Regions from separate parts of the Homo sapiens genome. Here region 1 is linked to region 2. The links are contacts of gene promoters, found by promoter capture Hi-C in human tissues and cell types (Jung and others, 2019). All regions are on one chromosome and are shown on one strand. Each heading gives the region's core, a stretch centred on a gene start or on the middle of the fragment in contact. The rest is flanking DNA. Distances are from core to core; before and after follow the strand shown.

Evidence for each region. The method cuts DNA at HindIII sites, captures the fragments that hold promoters and counts their contacts. A contact is called where the count stands out against the background at its distance.
Region 1: a contact is called between the fragment with the promoter of DPPA3 here and the fragment with the promoter of FOXJ2 in region 2, in 3 of the 25 tissues and cell types used here (mesendoderm cells, neural progenitor cells and thymus).

What each region holds. Positions count from the first base shown.
Region 1 is chr12:7,710,072-7,712,925 of GRCh38, forward strand. It overlaps DPPA3 (developmental pluripotency associated 3), which reads left to right and starts at 1,362. Exons shown (of 4, transcript NM_199286.4): 1 at 1,362-1,581. The coding sequence starts at 1,500. The HindIII fragment of the contact is 17,940 bases long and covers 1-2,854 here.
Region 2 is chr12:8,031,383-8,034,269 of GRCh38, forward strand. It overlaps FOXJ2 (forkhead box J2), which reads left to right and starts at 1,334. Exons shown (of 11, transcript NM_018416.3): 1 at 1,334-2,451. RefSeq lists silencers at 1,019-1,168, 1,189-1,428. The HindIII fragment of the contact is 12,101 bases long and covers 1-2,887 here.

The sequences.
Region 1 (2,854 bases), core at 112-2,611, 320 kb before region 2:
TTATCTCTCCAGTGAAATTCTTGCGGACTGATTATCAGAGATTCCCCAGGCAAGAGGGAGATTAGCCAAGAGCTGAACAACAGAAGTAGAAAGTTCACAGTGCCGTAAAGCAGGGCTGCTTAACTTGAGCACCCATCAGAATCACCTGGGGATCACTTCTGGGTCTTCTGGCTAAATGCAGAATTGCCTGGGAGGCTTGTTAAAGCATTACCACTGGGCGCCAGTCTTTGATTCAGTAGGGCTGGTTTGGAGCTCAGAATTTGTATATCTAAGTTAACTAGGTGCTTGTTGTAAACTGCACTTTTTTTTTTTTCCCAAGAGGCAGGGTCCTGCCCTGTCTACCAGGCTGGAGTGCAGTGGCACGATCATAGGTCACTGCAGCCTTTAACTGCTGGGTGATTAAGCGATCCTGGAGACCACACTTTTGAGAATCACTTGCATAAAGTGTTGGGACATGATCTATGCCTATGGCTGCTCATTCTCTATGAAAATATTTCTTAATCATAACTTCAATTTTTGCTTTTTACCAAACCCAAACAAGGTTGCCTTTGAGTATTTTCTCGTGGTTTCCACCTAGAGAGGGAATGGGGGAACGTGCGTATTTGAATAAGACGGGAAAAAGATGAGAGGGGCAGCTGGGGACTTGTTCTTCCACCTCCTGCAGACAATCAGTGGTTAAATGTTGTTGTGCTTTGCTACAAATACAAGCATTTTTTTGTGGGGAGGGAGTAGCAATTTGTAAGGTTAGTTAATTTCAGCTGCTCAGAAATGTTAGGTACTGTTTATAGTTTATAAAGCAAATTAACAAATAAAAAATACATGTCCCTAAAATATCAAGCTATGAAAGTGTTCATAACAGATACTTCTTCATTATTCCTCTCTTCTTAGTAGCAGCAAAGGTTTAAGATGATTGAAGCAAGGAAAACTTAAAGGAAACTTTCTCAGCTTAATTGGGAGTTTATGGGCAGTGGTGGTGGTGGGGCGGGGGCGGTAAAAACTGCCATTCTCCTCTGCACTAGAACACTTAAGCCCAGTTCACAAAACAGAAGCCATCTCCAGGAGTAGAGTTTGGGAAAAAAAAAAAAAAAAAAAAACAAGAAAAAAACAACTTATATGTAAGGCAACCTCAGGGAGACAGAACCACAAAAAGAGGATTTTAATAAATTTTCTAGCAGATATGACATCCGACAGATTATTTTAATGCAAAGCAGATGAAGAACTACCCTATGAGTCTAAACTACACCCATTCACCTTTAATCATTTGGATCCCTTAATCCTCTAATCATGGGATCATTAACATTCAAATATCCTGGAAGATTGGCTTATCTGTATTTTAAAAGGAAGCCGGACCTATAGTTTACGTCAGTTCTTTGACCATTCGTTGGAGCTCCGGTTTTCAGCCTCTTTCCGGGCTACCTGGTAGCAATTTGAGGCTCTGTCATCAGTTTCTGCTACGTTTCAAAGATCCTGGAGAAGCCTAGTGTTGTGTCAAGACGCCGATGGACCCATCACAGTTTAATCCAACCTACATCCCAGGGTCTCCACAAATGCTCACCGAAGAAAATTCCCGGGACGATTCAGGTAAGCCAGATAATGCCCTTCTTGACTATCTGACTATAGGGGGGTTGGGAGGTCAAAAGGCTGCCGTCTTTTTTTTTTTTTTTTTTTTTTTTTTTTTAATGTTGACTTCAGTCTTTGCAAGAGGAATGTATTTAGGTAAACCTCAAACCAGAGGGAGTCAACACAGAGAGGTCAAAGACTTTATTAAAAGCGGTGATGGTGGTGGTGAGAAATGTATTATTTTATTCACTATGCTTAGGAGTACTTCAGATTTCTTTCTTTTTTTTTCTTTTTTTTTTTTTGAGACGGAGTCTTGCTCTGTCGCCCAGGCTGGAGTGCAGTGGCGCGATCTCGGCTCACTCCAAGTTCCGCCTCCTGGGTTCACGCCATTCTCCTGCCTCAGCCTCCCAAGTAGCTGGGACTACAGGCGCCCGCCACCGCGCCCGTTTTTTTTTTTGTATTTTTGGTAGAGACGGGGTTTCACCGTGTTAGCCAGGGTGGTCTTGATCTCCTTACCTCGTGATCCGCCCGCCTCGGCCTCCCAAAGTACTGGGATTACAGGCTTGAGCCACTGCGCCCGGCCAGTACTTCAGATTTCTAAGACCAGTTTCTGGGGATAAATAATTGGAATCACAGAACGCGGCTCGTAGCGTCGTTGCATCAGTATCTTCCCCAACAGCAAATACATGTCAGGAACGGTAAAAAGGAACAAATACAGAGACCAAATAAACAAAAGATAGGGAAAAAAAATGAAACAATATGAGAAACTTTAACTTCAGTTGAACCTAAAGTTTTTCTTAATCTCTCGCCAACATTATTTTTATTTATATATTTTTTTGAGACGGAGTCTCTGTCGCCCGGGCTGGAGTGCAGTGGCGCGGTGTCGGCTCACTGCAACCTCCGCCTCTCGGGTTCAAGCAATTCTCCTGTCTCAGCCTCCAAAGTAGCTGGATTACAGGCATGTGCCACCACGCCCGGCTAATCTTTTGTATTTTTAGTAGAGACAGGGTTTCACTATGTTGGCCAGACTGGTCTCGATCTCCTGACGTCGTGATCCGCCCACCTCTGCCTCCCAAAGTGCTGGGATTACAGGCGTAAGCCAGCGCGCCCGTCCTATTTTTATTTTTATTTTTATTTTTGACAGTGGGTCTCTCCATGTTGCCCAGGCTGGTATCGAACACTTGGGTTCAGTCCATCCTCTTGCGTAGCTGGGACTGCAGGCGTGCGCCACCGAGTCCGGGCTCTAAGCCAACATTTTTGAGACAGGCTTTCCAGCTAAATGTTAATAAACAGA
Region 2 (2,887 bases), core at 84-2,583:
CGTGAGCCACTGCGCCTGGCCTCCTATTATCTTATGTGCTATAAAGTAGAGAGTAGGCCGGGCCGTGTTTCCTGCCTGTAATCCCAGCACTTTGGAGGCATAAAAAGGGAGAATAGTTTAAACCCAGGAATTAAAGACCAGCCTCGGCAGCATACTGAGACCCTGCCTCTATTTAAAAAGAAGAAAAAGATAAAGAAAGAAAGGAAAGAAAGTAGGGTAGTTTGATAAAAGTTTAAAAAGCCTGAGTATGGGCCGGGCGCGGTGGCTCACACCTGTAATCCCAGCACTTTGGGAGGCCGAGGAAGGTGGATCACGAGGTCAGGAGTTCGAGACCAGCCTGGCCAACTTGGTGAAACCCCATCTCTACTAAAAATACAAAAATTAGCCGGGCGTGGTGGCGCGCGCCTGTAATCCCAGCTGCTCCGGAGGCTGAGGCATCCCAGCTGCTGGGGAGGCTGAGACAGAAGAATCGCTTGAACCCGGGAGGCGTAGGTTGCAGTGGGCCCAGATCGTGCCATTGCACTCCAGCCTGGGCAATAAGTGAAACAACACCTCAAAAAAAAAAAAAAAAAAAAAAAAAAAGCCAGAGTATGAAATATATGAGAATTTGCAGCAGAATAATATGACTTCAGGATGTGACAGCTGTAAAGGGTAAGCAGGCCAAGTATCAAGGTCCCTTCTTCGCTGAGCAAGATTGCGGAGAACAAGGGCCATGCACAAGTTTAGGAAGCTGAAACAAGGAACAGGACCCAGATCTTCTGATGTTTATTTCACCGTTACACGCTCATTTATCATGTATCCACTCATTCAAGGAGCATTTACTGAATTCCAGGATGATATAAGGGTAACATATAAACTTCACCCCAATCTTCACCTCAATGCTCATGATCCTTTATAAATTATCTCGAGGGAAAGAGAAGCCCATCAAAGACAGTCCTGAGAAAGCTGGGGCTGTTCATCTGTATACGGAGTTTAACAGAATGAAACGCCGGAGTTGGGGTGTCAGCTGGAATTGACGGTATACGGTGCGCACTAGGGACTCTCCCGACGGGGAGCAGTGAGTTGTCATCCCGGGTAGACGGCGAACTCCCGGAGCCACGCGGCCGCAGGTGGGCGAGGGCGGCGAGATCCCTCGCCGGCGTGAGAGCGGCCGTGGCTCTCCAGGCGGAGCGCACACCGGGTAGCGAGGCTCGCGGCTCGGCGCTGCCCGCGGCTCGGCGTCTCCCGGCTCCTCCTTAACCCGCGCCGGGAGGCGGTGGCGGCAGCGGCCGGCGGGCGGGGGAGGGGGAGGGGCGCGGAGCGCGGCGCGGAGGCCGGGGAGGAGCCGGGGCCTGCAGCGGAGCCGAGCCGAGCCCGAGCCCGCGCCGAGCCCTGACACTGTCTGCCCGCCTTCTGGCTCCCCGGGAGCCCAGACTGGTCGGAGCCCGAGCGGTGGCAGCGCGGGGAGCCCCACGCGCCGAAGGGAGCGGACCCGACAGGACGGCCCTAGAGGAGGTGCTGCCGCCACAGTAGCAGGGACCGGAGTCTCGAGCCGCGGCCTCCCGGACCGTGCTGCCCAGGCCAGCTCAGGGACAGCCGGGAGTACGAAAGCCCCACCCTCTGGGGCACCCCGGGAGCGGAGGCGGGAGCGGGGACGCGAGCAACCTCTCCCCCTGTTGGAGAGAAAAGACCCTTACCACTCGGGTGAGGGAAAGAAGAGACCCCTGGAGGGGACGCCTCTCTCCTGCCTAGAGGCGAGGAAGACCCCTGTACTGGCCGGGGAGGAGACCCCCAGAAGTGGAAAGAAGGGAGCTTTCCGTAGGGAAGCAGAGTGAGACCACCCTAGCGCGCCCCCGCCCCTCCAAACACACACTCTCAACAGTTCAGGACTTTGGAGGCAAAGAGAGACGGGGCTGTGCCTGTGGAGTAGGCACCCTCGGCCCACCACTATTCACAGGAGACAGGAGTCCTTACGTTCAGAAGCCACTCCAGGGAAAGAAGAGGAATCGGCTTTCAGCCTTCTGGAGAGGGGAAGACCTCCCCCTCAACTTCCTCGTGCCTAGACAGTGGAACGGGGTGGAGCCCCTCCGCTCCTATCTCCAGCAGACAGAAAGAGCCCTCCACCTCAGAAAGATCCAGTTTGGGGGGGAGGGGAACTCCCCCAAGGGGGAGGAGACAACTCCTGGTTGGGAGAGGCTCCTCCCCTCCTCCCCCGGGTAACAAGCAGGGTGTGGGGGGTGTGCCACCTTCCCCAAGTAGGACCTCCTTCTCCTCCCCCTCCCCCTCCTCCAACCTTGACTCCTCATCCTCAGGGGACCCAGTTCCCCTCACCAACTTGGGAGGCTCAGCCTCGTCCAGGAAGAGCCACTGAGGATGAGAGCCGTCACCTGCCTCTGAAGAGGGGAATCCCTCCAACCCCAAACTCCAGTACCAGGTGGTTCCCTCCCTTTGCCGGAGGAACCTTGGAGACAGGTTAGTGCTTTCTTTCATCTTCTCTCTGTCATTGTCTGGCACTAGTGGGTGTAGGGGGTTGAGCTGGTGGATCGTGGGTTTCACTGCCGGGGAAGACAGAGTGATGACTCAGAAAATCCAATGGGAAATGTGATCCAAGGGAGCTCCTGGATTTGAACCCACATCTTGCTGCAGAAGCTCTGAGAAATGGGTTTCTTAGTGTTTGGGGACTAAAGGGATGGGATTCATTTTAGGTCCCTTAGGGAAGTGGATGTTTTCATGCTGAGGAAAAGGGTTATCGGAAAACAGCTGCATTTTGAGAACATGCATACTGTGTAGCAGTGATTTACACAACCCAACCAGTGGTAAGATTCCCATACCACCCTTCACCCTTGGGCCTTTTCCCCTGGAGAGTGGGCTGTCATGAAAATCACGGTGGCATCTGGGGTCCTGGCCT